2 separate regions of the Homo sapiens genome follow, and region 1 is linked to region 2. The links are contacts of gene promoters, found by promoter capture Hi-C in blood cells and fetal thymus (Javierre and others, 2016). All regions are on one chromosome and are shown on one strand. Each heading gives the region's core, a stretch centred on a gene start or on the middle of the fragment in contact. The rest is flanking DNA. Distances are from core to core; before and after follow the strand shown. Region 1 overlaps LOC124905008 (a long non-coding RNA gene). Region 2 holds the start of MIS18A (MIS18 kinetochore protein A).

Region 1 (3,882 bases), core at 673-3,172, 540 kb before region 2:
ACTCCTGTTCTTAAGCAATCCTCCTGCCTCGGCCTCCCAAAGTGTTGGGAATATGGGTGGGAATATGAGCCACTGCACCCAGCCTTGAAAATGAGTTCTTTCTAATGCTTTATGCCATATACTTTCTGGAGAGAGTATAAACTGGCTGTATTATATGAGACTTCTTTCTCCTTGGTCTGCTTTCCTTCTCTGGCCAGCCTCCTGGATTCAAGTCATTTGTCAGATATGTGTATCGTAAATACTTCCTCCCAGTCTGTGGCTTACCTTTTCATTATCTTGCCTCCTCCTCTCTCTGAAGCTTTCCCTGACACCTCTGTGATTCTTCTTCCTCCCCACTTAGGGATGTGACTGAACTCTCTCCTGGTTTAGAACTGCATTTCAACTGCCCACTGGGGAATTCCACATGGGGATCCCTCCATCCCCAAGGGACCCACCTGACTCCTTTTGTGCATCTTCTGTCTTCATGCCCTTTATGTTGTTGGGGCCAAAACAATGGAATGAAATGTGTGGAAAGCAGGAACTCCAAGAAGGAAGAGCTCAACGGCAGTTGGGCAATGGGATTTTAGGGAATTTTCATTTTCTTTTTAATTTTTCAGCATTTTTCATACTCCTCACAGAAGGCATGTATCACTTTTTTTTTTTTTTTTGAGAAGGAGTCTCACTCTGTTGCCCAGGCTGGAGTGCAGTGGGGTGATCTCGGCTCACTGCAACCTCCACCTCCTGGTTTCAAGCGATTCTCCTGCCTCAGCCTCCTGAGCAGCTGAGATTATAGGCATCCGCCATCGTGCCTGGCTGGTTTTTTTTTTTTTTTTTTGTATTTTTAGTAGAGATGCGGTTTTGCCATGTTGGTCAGGCTGGTCTCGAACTCCTGACCTCAGGTGATCCGCCCTCCTTGGCCTCTCAATGTACTGGGATTACAGGCATGAGCCACCACACCAGGCCAGTTTTATTGTCAGAAAGAGTAAGCTCCTTAAAAAAGTAAACATACAAGTAAGTATGCAGCAAACCTAAAATGTTCTGGATGTCATCTTAGCTATGATTGCAACAGTGAGCATATGAGTAACTAATAAAGGAAAACAATTTCTCTTCATCACTTCCTATCTTACTTAGGATTAGGAATCCAAGATTCTCTTTCCAAAATGGAAAGTATTAAAAACCAGTCTCATCTGAAGTGAAATGTCACCTTTTAGGACTAGGCCACGCCAGTCCAACATTTGCTGTTTCATTCATTCAGAAAATAAATGTGTACATCTCTTGTGGACAGGCACTGTGCTAGGTGTGTGGAATACTGTGATAAGCCCAAACACAGATAAGTTCCTTCCTCGAGGAACTATTCCTCCAGAGTCTGGCACCTTGCCCTGATGTTGAGTATTTTCCATGTGTATATTGGCCATATGTATACTTTCTTTTCCTTTTTTTTTTGAGATGGGGTCTTGCTCTGTCACCCAGGCTGGAGTGCAGTGGCTGGATCTCGGCTCACTGCAACCTCCGCCTCCCAGATTCCAGTGATTCTCCTGCCTCAGCCTCCCGAATAGCTGGGATTACAGGCACATGCCACCATGCCCACCTTATTTTTGTATTTTTAGTAGAGACAGAGTTTCACCATGTTGGCCAGGCTGGTCTTGAACTCCTGACCTTGTGATCCCCCCACCTCGGCCTCCCAAAGTGCTGGGATTACAGGCGTGAGCCACCGCACCCGGCCATGTATACTTTCTTTAGTAAAGTGTTCAAATCGTTTGCCCTTTAAAAAAACGGATCATTTGGAAGCTTCAATAGGAAGCTATTGAATGATATGAGTCCTTTGTCAGATATGTGTGTTGTAAACATTTCCTCACAGTCTGTGGCTTTCCTTTTCATTTTCTTTTGAAAAGCAGATGTTTTTAATTTTGATGGATATAATTTATACTTTTTTCTTTTATGGTTTGTGCTTTTCTGTCATATTGAAAAATTTTTGCTTATCCCCAGGATATGGAAATGTTCTCCTCTATTTTCTTCTTGACTCTTTATAGCTTAGCACTTTTGTTTAAGTCTGTGATCCATTTTGATTTAATATATGTGTATGAGATAAGATAAATATCAAGCTTCATTTTTTTACATTAGGATATCTAGTTGTTCCAGCACTATTTGTTGGAAAAAAAGATCATTTCCCCCATTGAATTACTTTGCCTCCTTTGTTGAAAATCAGTTGACCACATATGTGTGGATCTAGTTCCACGTATGTGTACTCTGTTCCTTTATATATATCTATATACTTTTCTTGCATATACATAGCCCACTGTCTTAATTTCTCTAGTAATTCAAGTAAATCAGTTAAAGTCTCCAACATAGTTCTTTTAAAAATTGTTTTCACTATGCTGTAATCTTTGCATTTCTATATAAATTTTTAAATCAACTTGTTAATTTCAAAAAAAAAAAAACACCCCACACAACTGAAAACAAGACAAAATAGGAAGTATGCTGGCTAGGCGTGGTGGCTCACGCCTGTAATCCCAGCACTCTGGGAGGCCGAGGTGGGCGGATCACGAGGTCAGGAGTTTGAGACCAGCCTGGCCAACGTGGTGAACCCCCGTCTCTATTAAAGATACAAAAAATTAGCTGGTCATGGTGGCGCTCGCCTGTGCACCTGTAATCCCAGCTACTTGGGAGGCTGGGGCAGGAGAATTGCTTGAACCTGGGAGGCAGAGGTTGCAGGGAGCCGAGATCACGCCATTGCACTCCAGCCTGGGCAACAGGGTGAGACTCCGTCTCAAAAAACAAAACAACAACAACAACAACAAAAATCACAAATGGGTGTTAATGTTGTCAGATACCATGGCTATATTCATTGGGATGATTATGTGATTTTGTCTATTCTATTATATTAATGAATTACTGTGATTGGTTTTTGAATGTGAAACCAACCTGGCATTCCTATAATAAAATCCACTTGGTTATGGGATATTACTTTTTTTATATGTTGCCGGGTTCAATTTGCAAAGATTCTGTCTGTCAAAATATTTCCTTCTATATTCATGAGTGGTATTGGTGGTCTCTGTTTTCCTTTTCTTGTAATGGTTTTGGTGTCGGGGTAGCTTGCTCTCATCAAATTATTTGATAAGTGCTTCTCTCCTTCCCTGTTATCTATTTTTTTTTTTTTTTTTTTTAGATAGCGTTTTGCTCTTGTCACCCGGCTGGAGGGCAGTGGTGCGATCTTGGCTCACTGCAACCTCCTGGGTTCAAGCGATTCTCCTGCCTCAGCCTCTCAAGTAGCTGGGATTACAGGCAGCTGCCACCATGCCCAGCTAATTTTTGTATTTTTACTAGAGATGGGGTTTCACCATGTTGGCCAGGCTGGTCTCGAACTCCTGACCTCAGGTGATCCACCTGCCTCGGCCTCCCAAAGTGCTGGGATTACAGGTGTGAACCACCACACCCGACCTCCTTCTCTATTTTCTAAAATAGCCTGTGTGGAATTGATATTATTTCTTTCTTAAGATTTGTTAGAATTCACCAATGAAGCCACTTGGGCCTAAAGTTTTGCTTATGAGAGGGTTTTATATTAATCAATTTTTAAAATTGATATAGTGTTCTTCAGGTCTTCTGTTTCTCGAGGGAGTTTTGATCATTTGTATTTTTTTCAGAAAATTGTCCATTTAAAGGTTGTCAATTTATTGCATAAAGTTTTTCCATGATATTCTGTTATTACCCTTTTAATGTCTGTAGTGATATTTCCTCTTTCATTTCTGATATTGATAATTTCTATCTTCTTTTTTTTCTTTTCTTGTTGAGTGAGGTTAGAGATTCATCTATTTTGTTGTTCCAAAAACCAAAGAAACAGTTTTTGGTTTCATTGATTAGCTCTATTGTTTGTGGACTTTCTAGTTCATTGATTTTCACTCTTAT
Region 2 (3,833 bases), core at 1,302-3,801:
TCTAGCACATAAACTTGAAATTTTCTTGGAGATGTGGACGTGGGGAGCACTAATGATTAATCAAACAATTCAGGAATGAAAAAGCTATTAAGAAGCTTTTTTATGTTAATGAGTACTGGAGTTGGGAAAACAATTTATATAAACTTTATAGGATTGGGTGCTGTAACTCACATCTGTACTCCCAGCACTTTAGGAGGCCGAAGCAGGGGATTGCTTGGGGCCAGGAGTTTGAGATCAGCCTGAGCAACATAGCAAGACTCTGTCTCTACAAAAAATTTAAAGATTAGCCAGGTGTTAGTGTGTATCTGTAGTCCCAAGCTACTTGGGAAGCTGAGCCGGGAGGATAGTTTGAGCAGGCGTTCAAGGTTACATACAGTGAGCTATGATTGCGCCACTGTACTCCAACCTGGGCAACAGAGGGCTGTTAACCCACTATAACCCTATTAAAAAAAAACCTATTAAATAAATAATCCTATTTTAAAAAATCATAGTTAGGCTGTTATAGCTACAGAACAGAATGTAAATGTACAGAATGTAAATGTATAAACCTTGACAAAATGAAAATAATTAAACTAATTCAAATTGGGTAAGGAAGGAATGGAAATGAATCCGAGTTCATTTATTTGTCTTTACTGGGGGGTGTGGGGAGGTGTTAAATCCTATTATCTAAATCTGATAAATCAAAAAATGTATAGTTCTTTAAATTTTAAACTACTATTTTAGAACTATGTTTTAAATTTAAAAGCTATTGTTATAAAAATTAAATAACAAAAACAGTCTTTCTATAAGTAACGCAAAACAACGAAAAGAGCCCACATGGCAAAAAATACACTCTATCGAAACAAACAAATAAAATGAAAGATGTAACATCAAACACGTTATTCCTTAAAAACATGTAAACAAGGGAATCTCATTCAAACAAAGAGCTTTTCCTACCTAACCAAAAATCTGCTTTTTTCTTTTTTTTCTTTTTTGAGACGTTGTCTCGCTCTGTCTCCAGGCTGGAGTGCAGTGGCGCAATCTCGGCCCACTGCAACCTCCGCCTCCCGGGTTCAAGTGATTCTCCTGCCTCAGCCTCCGGAGTGGCTAGGATTACAGGCGCACACCACCATGCCCGGCTAATTTTTTATTTTGGCGAGGCTGATCTGGAATTTTTGTATTTTTAGTAGAGATGGGGTTTCATTCACCATGTTGGCAAGGATGGTCTCAATCTCCGGATCTCGTGATCCGCCCACTTCGGCCTCCCAAAGTGCTGGGATTACAGGCCTGAGGCACCGCGCTCGGCCTGGTTTGATTTTGATAGGTGCAAAGAGTTAATCTCAACTTTCAGTTAACTACTGGACACTGGTGTGCTCCTTTATTCCCAGTATTACACCAAGGAAAACGTTCCAGAAACGTCGATAAGCCGGTGGTGAATTACTGCCATCGGAACATTTACGGCATTCAAAGACAGAAAAAACTTCATCTTGAAAAATCACAATCCAAAAACAACAGCCATTCTTACACCAATTCATAAAAAATATGTGAACCACTTTATCCCTAAATACTGCAAAAACATCAAAATGAGGGAACAGTGGAACAACAGAGGTAAGAGGTAACTGCTAGAACCAGGATTAGAAACTAATTCCTGCCTTCTTCTGAACTCTTTTGCTACATCCTCCTTCCTCGCCAGTTTTCATGGGGTTGTTGGTGCTTTTATTGCAAGTTTCCTTCCCTTTCTTCCCTATAGCACTGTGTTCCGTCAACTCTGCGGCTCTATCACTGGAGGCTGTAGAGGCATCCGCTGATACACCAACAGCCTGCTAATTTCTATGGGGAGTAATAGTACTGGCTGCACCTCAAGTGCTTACAGTCTAGTTGACCATTTGTTTCTCTTTTTTTAGGGTCTTTAAAAGTGTTATTCTTTGTCGCCCTTTGTTTCTGAGTAATGCTCACGATGATGCTGATTCAACCACTGCTCTTCTGGGATCGGGGACCCCAGAAAAGAACCCACCGCCCGAGAGCCAAAGTGGAGGGGTGACCCTCCTCCCCTTTTCCTGCCACAGCTCACACTCTCAGACTTTTTGCTCTTAAAGTCCCTGGGCAGCCCCAAGGAGCCCCCGCCTCCTCCCGGGCCGCCCACGCGCGGCACCCCTGGAAGAAGGCGACCCCACGCCCCCCCTGCCCGGCTCGACCCAACTGACAGCGAAGCAGGATGCAGTTGGTGTCCTCCTGGCTGGCCACCCAGCTCAGCGAGTCGCCCAGCGGCCGCCGGCAGCCGGAGCACAGGAACACCAGCGGCCTCTCCTCCGCAGCCGCCGCCTCCTCCTCCAGCTGCGCCCTCTCCATGTCGGCCACCGACGCGTCTTCGCTCATGGAGCTCCACATGCTCGCCCACTTCTGCAACAGCTGGTGGCGGCTCGAGTCTTCGGAGAGTCTCTTGCCCAACAGCGAGGAGTCGCTGCATTTGCCCTTGTCGCCGCACTCACAGCCGCCAGCGCATCCTCTGCTACACCTCAGTGACCGAACGCCTGCCATTACCTACAAATCGCCCGCGCCCCAGAGCGCCATGGGAAAAAAAACCGCCGCTGCTCATGCGCGGGGCGGGGAGCGGTGGCGGAGGCCGAGAAGGGGCAAAAGCCTGAAGGGGGCGGGACGGCGGGCGGCCTCTAGTGCGCATGCGCGCCGTGCGGCCTTGGCCAAGCGTGATAGTCACTGCGCCTGCGTCAGGTTTTCCAGCCTGAAGAAATTGATGATGCAGACCTGTTTGCTTGTCTTCCTAAGGATTATTCACCCCTTTCCGTGGGAGGGGCAGCGTCACTGAGAAAGTTACGGGTTGCAAGCTTGAGTGTCTAAGAACCGCCTGGCGAGCTTCTTAAGCAGATCGCCAGGTTCCATCTTCGCAGACTCTGGTTCAGCAGGTAGCAGGTTAGCCCGAGAATCTGCATTTCTAACAAGCTCCTAGGCGTGCCCACGCTGTCAGTATTGGCAGCCCAACCTTTTTTGGGGGGTGGGGGGGGGAGTTTTTCTATGTTGCCGGTCTCGAACTCCTAGCCTTAAGCGATCTTCCCTACTCGGCCTCCCAAAATGCCAGGATCGCAAGCGTAAGCCACTGTGCCAGACCACCACCCTTTTTCTTCTTTTTTGTAAGTGGACTAATTATAGTTGTATATAAGCAGCTCCACTTTTGATGACCACTGCTCTATTTTGTCGGCTCCTGGGGACCTCCTTTCCATGAAGTGGAGAAGGAAGGGGATAGAGGAGTCCCTCATCACAGGGTCCTTTTGCGCACTGCTATCCCTGGAATGAGACCCTGGGAAGGGCCCCGGATCACTCAGGCTGTCACTGCAAGGAAAAAGTTGAGGAAGCAGCAGTGCCCCTGGAAAGCCTGGAAGTGTCCCTGCTGCTTGGATCAAGGAACAATTCGTCCTTGCAAGGAAGAAGCATCCCTTGTTGATGATAAGGACAGATTTCCTCAGCTGCCCCAGAAAGCCAGCCTCTGCCTAAAACACCGTAGGTCAGGAGGGAAAGCTGGCGGGGAACCAGCCAGCTGCACCACAGACAGTCTGGTGGTATACCTGGGAAGAAAGCTACCTGCAAGGACCTACTCTGTTCCTACTACGCTCTGGGTGTCCCCCAAGTCACTGCCTATTTTGCTTGGTTGCATAAACTATTTATGTAAATGTACTTCCAATTTTAGTGCTTACAGCCACTAGCAAAAAGCAAAAGCTTTGGAGTCAGTGGTCCTGGTTAACTTACCCCTCCCTCCACAAGGTAGTAACAGTGTAGGGAACTGTGGAAAAGGCTGTTTGCCTTCCCTGAGTCTAATTCTTCATGGAGTAAATGGAGTCTGT

Evidence for each region. The method cuts DNA at HindIII sites, captures the fragments that hold promoters and counts their contacts. A CHiCAGO score of 5 or more calls a contact.
Region 1: a fragment that was not itself captured here is called in contact with the fragment with the promoter of MIS18A in region 2 in 3 of 17 cell types (erythroblasts, M2 macrophages and M1 macrophages); the score reaches 6.2 in erythroblasts.

Annotation. Positions count from the first base shown.
Region 1 is chr21:31,736,766-31,740,647 of GRCh38, forward strand. All of the region lies in intron 1 of LOC124905008 (a long non-coding RNA gene), which reads left to right. Among named protein-coding and RNA genes, the nearest start is that of SCAF4, 6.6 kb to the left of the region's middle. The HindIII fragment of the contact is 314 bases long and covers 1,766-2,079 here.
Region 2 is chr21:32,276,498-32,280,330 of GRCh38, forward strand. It overlaps MIS18A (MIS18 kinetochore protein A), which reads right to left and starts at 2,552. Exons shown (of 5, transcript NM_018944.3): 1 at 2,184-2,552. The coding sequence starts at 2,517. It overlaps MIS18A-AS1 (MIS18A antisense RNA 1), which reads left to right and starts at 2,708. Exons shown (of 1, transcript NR_046576.1): 1 at 2,708-3,833. RefSeq lists enhancers at 1,801-2,302, 2,303-2,802, 2,746-2,965. The HindIII fragment of the contact is 2,727 bases long and covers 94-2,820 here.